Regions from separate parts of the Homo sapiens genome. Here all the other regions are linked to region 2. Evidence: promoter capture Hi-C in human tissues and cell types (Jung and others, 2019). All regions are on one chromosome and are shown on one strand. Each heading gives the region's core, a stretch centred on a gene start or on the middle of the fragment in contact. The rest is flanking DNA. Distances are from core to core; before and after follow the strand shown. Region 1 overlaps GLYR1 (glyoxylate reductase 1 homolog). Region 2 holds the start of UBALD1 (UBA like domain containing 1). Region 3 overlaps UBN1 (ubinuclein 1).

Evidence for each region. The method cuts DNA at HindIII sites, captures the fragments that hold promoters and counts their contacts. A contact is called where the count stands out against the background at its distance.
Region 1: a fragment that was not itself captured here is called in contact with the fragment with the promoter of UBALD1 in region 2 in 1 of the 25 tissues and cell types used here (thymus).
Region 3: a contact is called between a fragment that was not itself captured here and the fragment with the promoter of UBALD1 in region 2, in 1 of the 25 tissues and cell types used here (dorsolateral prefrontal cortex).

The regions. Positions count from the first base shown.
Region 1 is chr16:4,827,401-4,831,766 of GRCh38, reverse strand. All of the region lies in intron 5 of GLYR1 (glyoxylate reductase 1 homolog), which reads left to right. Among named protein-coding and RNA genes, the nearest start is that of GLYR1, 18 kb to the left of the region's middle. The HindIII fragment of the contact is 6,084 bases long and covers 1-4,366 here.
Region 2 is chr16:4,613,204-4,617,244 of GRCh38, reverse strand. UBALD1 (UBA like domain containing 1) reads left to right here and starts at 2,357. Exons shown (of 3, transcript NM_145253.3): 1 at 2,357-2,567. The coding sequence starts at 2,448. RefSeq lists silencers at 624-853, 2,097-2,336, 2,677-2,776, 2,817-2,926, 3,007-3,176 and enhancers at 904-1,163, 1,001-1,572, 1,573-2,145. The HindIII fragment of the contact is 16,802 bases long and covers 1-4,041 here.
Region 3 is chr16:4,865,636-4,870,042 of GRCh38, reverse strand. It overlaps UBN1 (ubinuclein 1), which reads right to left. Exons shown (of 18, transcript NM_001079514.3): 8 at 1,140-1,210. Among named protein-coding and RNA genes, the nearest start is that of UBN1, 20 kb to the right of the region's middle. The HindIII fragment of the contact is 3,369 bases long and covers 325-3,693 here.

The DNA of each region.
Region 1 (4,366 bases), core at 843-3,342, 210 kb before region 2:
CCTTGGAGCTCAAAGTTGCATTGAGCCGATTGCACCACTGCATTCTAGCCTGGGTGATGGAGTGAGACCCCGAATCTTATTTAAAAAATTAAAAAATAAAGAATCCCATAGACCAGGTGAGAGACACGGCCTGGATGCAGGTGTAAAGTAGGAGCGCGAGGCAGGAGAGCAGTCCACTTGAGCCGGTGCACAAGGGCTGGCCCTGGGAGGGGCTTAGCAAGAAAGAAGGGTAGGCATTCCAAAGATGGAGGGCACAGCCCGTGTGAGGCTCGGTGCTGGTGGAGATACTCTCGAACAGGGAGAGGATAGTGAGGAAAGCCGAGAAAAAGGAAGCTTGTCCCTGGATCGTGGAGGGCCTGAAGGTCTACTGAAGCAGCGTGGTACTAAAGCGTCTTGGAGTCAGTGGGGGCCCGGGAAGGTGACTGAGCCAGTGGCAGTGTGTGCCTCCCGTGTGTGCACCAGTAGTCACCGAGTGCAGAGGGGAAAGTCTCAGAGCCAATTAGGAGGTAAGTCTAGGCGTGCATTCATAAGGGGGTAATTGCAAATGTTGCAAGCAAAGAGGTGAGAGGCACTTCAGAGGAAGAGTTCTTAAGATTCCATAATTGGTTATATAGAGGATGAATGAGAAAAAGGAAAAGAGGATTTCCATCTTCATTCCTGGGAAAGTGGTCATCACTTTCTTAAAAGTAGAGGACTGGGGATGTAGAGGTGGCTTGTGGAGAAAGAGTACCAGTTCTGTTTGGAATGTCAAGAACTTGAGGCAAGGCCTAGACAGCCTGGGAGCTTGGTGTGACCTCAGGACTAGAAATGTAGATTTGGGAGGTGAATTTGTAAAAGGGTAGTTGAGTCCGGGCAGTGGAATGGGTTTGTTTCAGGAAGAGAGGGAGAAGAGGGAAGCGCGGAGGCCTGCATTGCCACAAGAATGCCGTGCTTGGGGCAGGAAGGAGCAGGAGGAGCTAGCAAGATGAGATAAAGCAGTGAGAGTGCCTCTCTCGCCTTCTTGCTGACAAGATTTGGGGCCGGTCTTACAAGGCCACAGAGAAGAATTTCAAAGTGAAGGGGACTGTGTCAGGAACGCGGTAGGATTGTCAACAGCAGGATAAAGAGAACAGAAGCCAGATGGCTGGCAGCAACAGTTGGGTGACGAGGCCATGATGGAACATTAGACCTTGGATCAAGGCTCAAAAATTCAGACACCAGCGAGCCCAGGCAGGTAATGGAAGCAACTGTAGCTGACTGGACCTAAGAAGCAGTGGCACGGGTGCCAGGCACCCCAGCTGACCTGCCTTGGTGCTCAGAGCAGCAGGGCTGGCCATGGTCAGGGAGTCTGGGGAGGTCATGCTCTGTCCACAGGGTTCTAGCCAGCTTCTGCCAAATTGTCTGTTTTTTCTCAAGAGAAGCTGGGAAGGCCAGTTGTGGTGTCTCATACCTGCAATCATAGCACTTTGGGAGGCTGAGGCAGGAAGATCACATGAGCCCAGGAGTTCAAGACCAGGCTGAGAAGCATAGTAAGAGCCTTTCCCTTAAAAAAAAAAAAAAAAAAAAGACAAAGTTGGCCAGGTGCAGTGGCTTATGCCTGTAATCCCAGCATTTTCGGAGGCTGAGGTGAGCAGATTGCTTGAGCTTAGGAGTTGAAGACTAGCTCTACAAAAACTAAAAAATTGGCCAGGCATGGTAGCTCACACCTGTAATCCTAGCACTTTGGGAGGCCAGTGCAGGAGGATCCCCTGAGCCCAGGAGTTCTAGACCAGCCTGGGCAACATAGGGAAACCCCATCTCTATTAAAATTTTTTTTGCTGGGTGCAGTGGCTCACACCTGTAATCCCAGCACTTTGGGAGGCCGAGGCAGGTGGTTCACCTCAGGTCGGGAGTTCGAGACCAGCCTGACCAACATGGAGAAACCCCGTCTCTACTAAAAATACAAAAATTACCCGAGTGTGGTGGCACGCTCCTGTAATTCCAACTACTCGGGAGGATGAGGCAGGAGAATCACGTGAACCCAGGAGGCAGAGGTTGCAGTGAGCCGAGATTGCGCCACTGCACTCCAGCCTGGGCGACAGAGTGAGACTCCGTCTCAAAGAAAAAAAAAAATTTAATATAAATGAATTAAAAATTAGCTGGGGTTGGTGGTGTGTGCCTGTAGTCCCCCCTACTCAGAAAGCTGAGATGAGAAGATCACTTGAACCCAGGAGGTGGAGGTTACAGTGAGCCAAGATTATGCCACTGCACTTTAGTCTGGGTGACACAGCGAGACCCTGTCTCAAAAAAAACAACAAAAAAAGAAACAAAAAGTACTAGTTGGGCATAGTGGTACACACCTGTAGTCCCACCTACTTGGGAAGCTGGGGTGGGAGGATCACTTGAGCCCAGGAGGTCAAGGCTGTAGTGACCTACAATTCCACCACTGCACTCCAGCCTGGGCAACAGTGTGAGACCCTATCTCCAAAAAAAGAGAGAAGCTGGAAATACAGGTTTTTATGTGAAATATCCCAATTTTAAATGTGCTTAGTTCAAAAATATGTCTTGGGGCCATAGAAACATCTCTGTGGGCTGCCAGTGTGAGGCCTCTGGTGAGAGACAGCCCTTCTCACTGTTAGATGACCTCAGGCTGAGGGAGTGGTGAGAGCAAGGGTGGCAGTGCTGTCCCTGCATACCGTCAGCCCAAGGTTTGGAAAAGCTGCCAGCTGCAGTGCAGAGAGAACTTTATAGGGAACATGATCTAAATTGACCCACAAAAAATGTAATGTGACTTCTGAGTTTATTTCCTGGAATCCAAAAGGAATCTGGGCTGTCAGATTTTATGCTATTTCCCAAATTGATATTGTCTGGTATGTGAAGCCATGCATCTCACCGGTGCCTGTGCCACCCTGGAAAGAAATACCTTCTCGTTGGATAAAGGGAAGTACAAAGGAGAGGTTATGACGAGGGCCTGGAGTTTGAATCACGTATATAGGACCTTAGCAAAGCACCTTTGCCCCAGTTTCCTTGTCTCATCGTTAGGAATTACAACAGTACGTGCCTCCTAGGTTCACTGTGTTAGTTAAATGAGTGACATGGACACAGCACTTAGAACAGTGCCTGTGTACAAGGCATTTGATCAGTTCTTTAGGTTTGTTTCGCAGACACTGGCCGTTTGTACAGTGAGAACCCCAGAGGCCACTGCCCAGGCTTACAGGAACTCGTCTCACGAGCTCCCAATAAACTGCAGACAGCCCTTGGGTCTGAATTATTAATCTGGGGAGTAGTGTAGCATACGTTGGAGATACTGCAGGTTCGATTCCAGATCATTGCAGGTCACACAAACGTCTTGGTTTCCCATTGCATGTTAAAGTTAGGTTTATACTGTAGTCTATTAAGTGGTACAATAGCAATATGTCTTTTTAAAATGTACATACCTTTGCCGGGCGCGGTGGCTCACGCCTGTAATCCCAGCGCTTTGGGAGGCCGAGGCGGGCGGATCATGAGGTCAGGAGATGGAGACCATCCTGGCTAACACGGTGAAACCCCGTCTCTACTAAAAATACGAAAAATTAGCCGGGCATGGTGGTGGGCGCCTATAGTCCCAGCTACTCAGGAGGCTGAGGTAGGAGAATGGCGTGAACCCGGGAGGCGGAGCTTGAAGTGAGCCGAGATCACGCCACTGCACCCCAGCCTGGGTGACAGAGCGAGACTCCATCTCAAAAAAATATATATATATACATGCCTTAAGTTAAAAATACTTCATTGCTTAAAAAAAAAAATGCTGACAGAGACACAAAGTGAACACATGCTGTTGGGAAAATGTCCCCCATAGATTTGATTGATACTGGGTTGCCACAAACCTTCAATTCGTTTTTTGGTTTTTTGGTTTTTTGGTTTGTTTTTTTTGAGACGGAGTCTCGTGCTGTCGCCCAGGCTGCGGTGCAGTGGCGCAATCTCGGCTCACTGCAAGCTCCGCCTCCTGGGTTAATGCCATTCTCCTGCCTCAGCCTCTGGAGCAGCTGGGACTACAGGTGCCCGCCACCACGCCCGGCTAATTTTTTGTGTTTTTAGTAGAGACGGGGTTTCATCATGTTAGCCAGGATGGTGTCGATCTCCTGACCTCATGATCCACCTGCCTCGGCCTCCCAAAGTGCTGGGATGACAGGCGTGAGCCACCGTGCCTGGCCCGTTTTTTTTGTTTGTTTGTTTGTTTGTTTTTTTAAGTGCAACACCTACAAAGCACAATAAAACAACGCATAATAAAACGAGGTGTGTCTGTGGTCCAGGAGCTCTAGCTGCTATTGACCCTTCGAGGTGTCCTTCCTGCCTGTTCTTTGTGCTTCACCTGGCCCATAGTGAAAGGACGTATGAGCAGGAGAGGACAGAGCTGGCATGTGGTACAGGA
Region 2 (4,041 bases), core at 1,108-3,607:
CTTTGTTTTTTGGTTTTTTTTTTTGAGACAGAGTCTTGCTCTGTGGCCCAGGCTGCAGGGCAGTGGCGCGATCGCGGCTCACTGCAACCTCCGCCTCCTGGGTTCAAGCGATTCTCCTGCCTCAGCTTCTGGAGTAGCTGGGATTACAGGCGACTGCCACCACGCCCGGCTAGTGTTTGTATTTTTAGTAGAGAACGGGTTTCGCCGTTTTGGTCAGGCTGGTCTCGAATTCCTGACCTCAGGTGATCCGCCAGCCTCGGCCTCCCAAAGTGCTGGGATTACAGGCGTGAGCCACTGCGCCCGACCCGAACTCAGCTAATTTTCTTAAAATGTAAATCTCTGTAGAGGCGTGTTCTCAAAGTCCTGGGCCTAGGCAATCCTCCCTCCTCGGACCCCGAGTAGGTGGGATTACAGGCCACCGCGCCAGCCCGGGAGGGCATTTTCCATCTTGCAAGGCTATACTCGTCCTCCGGGTTTCCGAAATTCGCTCCCAACCCCAGCCGTTCTCACAGCCCCCACCCGGCTATTGCTCTTCTGTCGCCCCACGCTAGGTCAGGGCCAGGAAAAGAGGAAAGACTCAACAAATAGTGTCTCAACGAAGGAGGCTGGGGCCAGGGGGCGCAAGGAGCCGGACCAAGGTCACCTAGAGCTGCTATGATCGCGCCTTACCGCCCCCGGGCGCTCGAAGCGGGCTAAAGCCTCACTAGCTGTCAGCAACGTCAACCGGAAGCGCCATGTGCCGGTCTGTAAACACCGCCCGGTCGCCCCGCCCCCGGCTCCGCCCCCGGCCTCCCCGGCCCAGCGCCCGCCCCCGCCGCCTCTTCATTGGGCGACCAGCTTTGTTTACCTTATATGGCCAGGTCCTAACACCCCGAGGCTGTCCATTGGTCGAGGCACGACCTCACTCAGCTGACGTCACCGGGACCAAACGATGCAAATAAACCGAGGCATTCTGGGAAAGGGAGTTTGGGGCCGCTCCGGAACTGGCTCTGCCGGGCCTTGGCGCCCGCCCGCTAAGGGCCGAGATTTCCGGCAAAGAGCACGAGATTTTGCGTGGGAAAGCGGGAGAACTGCTGGGAGGGGGACCCCGAAGCACCAGAGGCTGCTGGCCCCGCCAGCCTGTCCCAGGCGCCGTCCAGAGGGTCATGGGGCTACAGTGGGGCAGGCCCAGAGCCAGGCTAGGAAGGACCCATGCCACGAGTGGGCGATGAGAGATTGAGTGAGGAGAGCTAGGAGGCTAGCTATAGGCGGTGACGTGCGGCGGAGCTTTTAAGTGGCTCATTCATTCATTCACTGAACGAGTATTTGTCGGCGCCTACAGTGTGCCGGGCCTTTCAGCCTAGACCAGCCGATTTGGGCCAAAATTCCTAGAGACCCCTCTCTTAAGGGCGTGCCTACTATTTAACACAGAGCGATGCCAATCACAGAGGGGTTCAGGGTCCCTAGGTCTTAGCAAAGACGCCTGTGGCCCGGCGTTTGCGCCCATGCACAGATCTGTATGCCCCACCTTGGGACCCCAATTCGTGCCAGAGCAGGGGCACGGGTGCCACCGAGAGCAATGAGGGCGACATGGACGTGCCTGGCTCTGGTCACGGTCTGGACAGCTGCGCACAGTAGGCACTTAGCGTTCAGTCACAGTCCCCGGGGCATGGCAAAGACGTCTGTGGCCTGGCGTTTGCGCCCATGCACAGATCTGTGGCCCCGGCCTCTGGGCTCCTAATTCCCGCCAGAGCAGGGGCGTGGGTGCCACCGAGAGCAACGAGGGCGACGTGGACGTGACTGGCTCTGGTCCCAGCTCAGGCGCCTGCACACATTAGGCACTCAGTTTTCAGACACCGTTCCTGGGCCTTGGCAAAAACGCCTATGCACGAACCTGAGGCCCCCGCCTGCGGACCTCCATCCGTGCCAGAGCAGGGGCCGGGTGCCACCCAGAGCAACGAGGGCGACGTGGACTCCCCCAACCCTGGTCACGGCCCGGGCATCCACACACAGTAGGCGCTCACAGTTCAGACACGGTCCCCAGGCCTTGGCCAAGATCCTGTGGTCAGGCATTTGCGCCCATGCACAGACGTGGCCCCCGCCAGCGGACCCCCATCCGTGCCAGAGCAGGGGCACGGGTGCCACCGAGAGCAACGAGGACGACGTGGACGCGCCCGGCTCGGGTTACGGCCCGGACATCCGCACAGCGGGCGCTCGGTGCTCAGACACGCCCCTTCCCGGGCTTCGCGTCCCCTAGGGTGCCGGCCCCGCTCCCCCGGGGCGCCCGGCGCACCGTGGGGACTACATATCCCAGCATGCCGCGGCGCCGGCGGAGCGAGGCGAGGCGCGGTGAGTCAGAGCCGCACAGTAAATATTTGTATTAGCCGGAGCCGGCTCGCTAATGGTGGACGCGTGAGGCGGAGGCGCGGGCGGAGGAGGGAGGCCGGAGCGGGCAGCGCGGCGGCGCCATGTCCGTGAACATGGACGAGCTCAAGCACCAGGTCATGATCAACCAGTTCGTGCTGACGGCGGGCTGCGCGGCCGACCAGGCGAAGCAACTGCTGCAGGCGGCCCACTGGCAGTTCGAGGTGCGCGGCGCCGGAGCCGGGCGAGGGCCGGGGCCACGGGCGGAGTGTGTCCCGCGTGGCCGCCGGGCGGGGGCGGACGGCGTGGACGCGTGCCGGCTGTGCGCCCCCTCCGGGCCGCAGACCCGACCCGCTTTCCCGACGGCGGTGCCCGGCGTCCGGATCCCAAGGGCTCGCGGCGGGCGGAGGTGGGAACCGGGCCACCGGTCGGGGATACGCCGCCCCCGCGGGGCCGCGAGTCCCCCGGGATCGAGACGGGGACCCCCCCCACCCCTTTTGTCCGGGTAACGGCCGAGGGCCGGGCGGCCCCGCGGTGCAGACGGACAGTCGGGCGGGCGGCCGGAAGGAGGACGCCCCAGGCCTCGGCAGAGCTGGGCCGGAGGGCGGAGCCGCTCCGGGCGAGTGGTCCGAGGGTCCGCGTGCCTGGTGGGCGGTCGGCGGCGTGCGCACACGTCCATGTGCATTTGTGTTTACGCACGCACCGCGCCACGGCGTCGGCCGGGCACCGGGGAGGTGGCGGACCTGCGGGCACGTTGGCGCGCGTGTGAACGCGCAGCCCCCTGGTGCGTTTGGTGTGTGATCAACGCGTACACATGTGGCGGGTGTGCAGATGCCGCCCGTGCCCGGCACGGTGTGATGTGTGTACACGGCCTGGAGTGTAGGGGTGGCGTGTCGGAGCCCCACACTACACCACAGGGATGAGCGTGTATCCCCTTCAGAGGTGTGCCTGGGGACTCCGTGTGCGCGACTAGGTGCTCTCCTGGGGCTGGCAGGGGCATCTGTCCCTTTACCGGTGCAATGGGGAGGGTGCACACGGTTCACCAGCTTTCGGGCTAGCTGGGTAGGAGGTGATGCTGCCCCGGTCTGGCACCCACTCCCCCGGGCCTCTCCTAACCCATAGGACAGTAGTGCTCCTGGCTTGTGCTGCCCAGAGGCTACCTGGCTTTCCCTAATTCACCGACCCCAGGATTAACCCCATGGTGGTTGGTATCAGGGGATGAGGCCAGAGCCCTTTGAGCTGTGCCCCTCACAGGGGTAGGGTCATGGCCTCAGCCATCCCGGTACCATCTGTGCCCAGCCGGGGACTGGGAACCTGGTTTCTCCATGAGGAGCCATCCCAGGGCCTGCAGGAGGGACTAGAAGCCAGAGGACTCTGAGGCTCCGCTTCCTGGGGACTGCAGGGGGATCAGAATGTCCCAAGCTTGGGACAGTCTGGGAAGGCAGTGGCCATCCCATCCAGATGAGTACATCCCTCTCTCCTTGCCTACTTCCCTCCTACCAGCCGTCGCGGAGGCCACTGATCCTGTGTGGTGTTCACCCCAGGACGTGGGAGGCTGCTCTGTCCCTCTGGCCTTAGTTTCCACATCTGTATGGTGGGGTTGGGGGGCATGAGTCAGCTTCTGTTGGCCAGCTTACTGCCCCCTGTGCCCCAAGGCAGCCCCACCCGGAGGAAGCTCCCTGCTTCCCTCCTGGTCTC
Region 3 (4,407 bases), core at 760-3,259, 250 kb before region 2:
AACAACAACAACTCCCAAGCCTGATGAACATGGCTAGGTAATGTGGGCCAAGGCTCTTAGGTCACAATACCAGGAAAACAGAGCCCAGGAGAACAAGCTCTGAAGCACTAAATTTCATAGAGAAAACATGAAAGCTTTCAAAGTGGAAAGTCATGAGTTACTTGGGGTTCAAAGGAGACACTTCCCGGCAGCATTTCTTTTTTTTCCCCCAGTCCCCACGTTTATCAACCATTATGAGGTCAGGGAAAGCCTCACCCCTCCAGTTTCTCCATCTAGATAAGCAAAAAAATATTTCTCTTCAATGCCTTGAGCTGTCCACATTTGGCACGCTCAAGCAGGTTCCTTGTTGACACAATCCTATCGTCCGCACCAATGCTCAGGTGCTCTCTGCAGCTCACACTTCCTGACCCAAGGGGCCAATCCAGGTCCCGGCCAGGCGAGGCCATGTGGTAGAACACCCACATTTTGACAACTGTTCTTACACACACAAACTCCTCAGCTGTTGAGCAACAAGCTTCCCCTGCCACAAACTGCAACCAGGAGAAAAGCGGCAACACTGCAGGCCAGGCCACAAGGATTCACTTTTCCCAGTCTGGATTTACAAATGTTTGCTCATCTGTTTTTTAACCCGATTCACACAGCGTGGTGTCTCAGAGGCTCAGGCATGTGGGAACAGCATTAGGGATGATGCACGTGGCACTAGGAACAGGAGTGCCAGCGAGCGGAACAGCCAGGGACGCCAAGCAACACCCAAGGCAGAGCAGGCCCGAGGCCACCAGGCTGTCTCTCATTCTTCAGGATTCTCAGAGACAGTCAGGCAACACCTTCTCTCTCTCCTCATCTCATACCTGCCAAGAAATCCTCTTCTAACAGGCCATGATTATCACATGTTATTAATGCCTGCTGCCTAAGATCAAGGAGGTCTATCGCTTCTGGAGACAAGTACTTGGTGTCCCTGTTGTGTTTTGATTTTTAAAAGAAAAATAACAATGAAACCATGTTAATCCAATTCTTCTTTTATCTCCTTGGTGGTCACCTTTATGCAGTTCAATTGTACTCCCACTGTCCCCTAGCTGGCTTGCCCCAAGCTCAGTAATAGCAGAAACAGACAGACAGACAGACAGACAGACGATACTCACTCTAATAGGATTCCATTAATATCCTGGGTGAAGAACTTCTGTCTGCTCTCCCCCTCAGCAGCTCTGGCAGCCTGGTGCACAGCAGACAGTAACAGCCGTTAGTGCACTTTCCCCACATGTCCCTTACGCTCACCCACAGGCACAGGAGTCATCGCTCCATAAAGAGCACCTGTCAATACAGTCACACCGCCACCTTTCCAACTCCACCCTAGTCCCAGGTTAAGTTCGCCTGCGATCAATATTCTCTTTTCAAATGCTGCTGCAGCATCTGTGGGCTGCCAGTTCTTCCTGGGACTTAAAACAGTCACAGAAAAGAAAATCAGAGTCAAAGCCATCACAATGCACTTAGCCAGAGGCCAATAAGGCCAACTAACCCCTGCACCCATACACCATCAACTACACCATTAGTTGGGATTTCCATGTATCTACAGTACAAAAATATTCAAGAACTTCAACCAGTCTATAGGATTTAAAGGCCTTTTTATCTACAAAAATAATAATAATGTGTAGCTCTAACACTTAAGGACATTAAAACTCTTTGACAATTCCTAATCTACTTATGGTATACCACGAGCTCTCTATTAGCCAGACCATGTGAATAATTAACCCACCATATTACCTATTAACACCAGATTATAGGAGTTTCAGTACAGTCTTAGTTTGCTTTCGAAAAGAACACAGTTAACACACACCCTGGATGGCAAGCTCAGAGACCCCTGAAGCAACCACGGCAGGCAGCCACGACACAGCGGGAACACAAAAAAGCAGACCCTGTGGAAGTCTGCATCAGGGTTCTCACACTTGGTTGCATATTGGAATTCCCTGGGCAGCTTGGAGCAACTCAGGCCATTCAAATCACAGTCTCTGGAAAGGAGATTCAGGAATGCACACTCTCAAAAGTGGCCCAAGTACTCTTTCAAAGCAACCCTGGGAACACTGATGTGCAAAAAGGGCTGGGAACCATTCCTCTCAACCCAAGAGCTGCTGGTCTGAAGGCTTTGGGTGAAATAAAATTTCTGAAATCAGACATGATATACAGTAACGACAGCAAACAAGGGTGATAAGGTGACTATCTAGAATGAAGGGATCAACCCCTCTGAAATTGCAGACACTGCTAACCCCTCACCATCATCTCCCCCACTCACCTTCCTCTCACTGCATCCTCTGGGGCCCCTTCCAACCACTCTAACTGCTCCATCTGCCTCCTCCACCAGCTCCTTTCCATAGGCGGACCCCAGGATTCTCACTAGAACCCACTTCTCCCAATAACTTCTTTCCCCCTCAGGGCTTCAAAATAACACAGACAATTGTACACTCAAATCTAAACTAAGCCCTAAATCCTCTCATCTAAGCTCTGGACCAGAATTTCCAGTTATCTCTGAGAAATTTCCCAATTACAGTCAACGCCTGGTATAGGCAGGGGATTGGTTACAGGACCCCCGTATATACCAAAATCCAACTGCACAGTCAGCCCTGAGGAACCTGCCTATACAAAAAGTTAGCCCTCTATACACAGATTTAGCATCCCTCAAATCAACCCACATTTGGTTAGAAAACATCTGCGTGTAAGTGGATCCACGCAGTTAAACCCTGTGTTGTTCAAGGGTCAACTGCACTTCTGTGGATGGATGACCCTCTGGTTTGCAAACTCAACTTACACCAGACCCACTGGCTTCTGCTCTTCCCCTGTGTTCCCCACTTCTAATAATTGCACTCCAACCTTAAGACCGCCACTCCCTTCTTCAGAACCCTTCAGCAGCTCTTTCCAAGCCTGGTATCAAACCCAAACTCCTTCACATGGCATTTGGGGTCCTCCACGATCTGGCCCAGCCATCCACCAACTCGCCCATCTTCAGCTCTGCTCCCTGCCTTCTCTTAGGGCATCTTCCCCAGGAGGCCGGCGAAGCCTGTTGCCTCCAGTCTGCTTCCTATATGCCCCCCAAGAGCCTCTCTTTAACCCCTTAAGTCCGGCTATCTGGCCGTCCACACATCACAAAGCTTACTTCATTCTGCTCTGTACTACAGTCCATTGTCTGCGTATCTATCGGGTCCATTTATGTAACGAGCTCATGAAAGACAAGAATGGAACCTTGGCCCGGCGCGGTGGCTCACACCTGTAATCCTAACACATTGGGAGGCCAAGGTGGGCGGAACACGCGAGCTCAGGAGTTTCAGACCAGCTTGGGCACATGATGAGACCCTGTCTCTACTAAAAATACAAAAAAAAGCTGGGCATGGTGGTGCATGCCTGTGGTCCCAACTACTCTGGAGGCTGAGGTGGCAGGATCACTTGAGCCCTGGGCGTGGAGGTTGCAGTAAGGCAAGATCGTGCCACTGCACTCCAGCCTGGGTGACAGAGCAAGACCCTGTCTTAAAAAATAATAATAAAATAAAATATAGAACTGAGTCTTATTCATCAGTATATTTCCCATGGCTGCCTGTCACATAATATTTACTAAATGTTGACTGAGTGAATGAATCAACAAATGAAGATACTACTGTAAAACGGCACGCCACAGGAAGAAAAGCTTAACACCAAACAACCAAAACTAAGTCAGAAGAAAATGCGCAAAACTCAAGCTTCTACAGATCCCTTGGCTAGGTGAAAGCCCAGAGGGGTGAAATCCACAGACGAATAATGGAAAAAAAGGGCATGACTTTTCACCCAGCCATGTGCCAATTTCTTACACTCTTGGAAACATTCAGAATTCTACCTTAGCACTTGGAAGGTACTAGAATTATATTAGTCTGGGAAAAAATAAAACTGAACTTTTTTTGCTTAAGCTTACACTGCTAGTTTTAAGATCGAGAAGCACCCTTACATTAATTCAAACTAATTAACATGTATTTCACATGCCACACTTTCAGACCCATCTACAGCTTAAACTTCCAATCAAATTTTATCTTATTATTTTTTATTTTTTTATTTTAGTTTAGTTTTTGAGACGGAGTCTTGTTCTGTTGCCCAGGCTGGAGTGCAATGGCGTGATCTCAGCTCACTGCAACCTCCACCTCCCGGGTTCAAGTGATTCTCCTGCCTCAGCCTCCTGAGTAGCTGGGATTACAGGCACCCACCCCCATGTTCGGCTAATTTTTTGTATTTTTAGTAGAGATGGGGTTTCACCATGTTGGCCAGGCTGGTCTCAAACATCTGACCCCAAGTGATCCGCCCGCCTCAGCCACCCAAAATGCTGGGATTACAGGCTGAGCCACCATGCCCAGCATCTTATTTTATTGAGATGGTCTCACTCTGTCACCCATTCTGGAG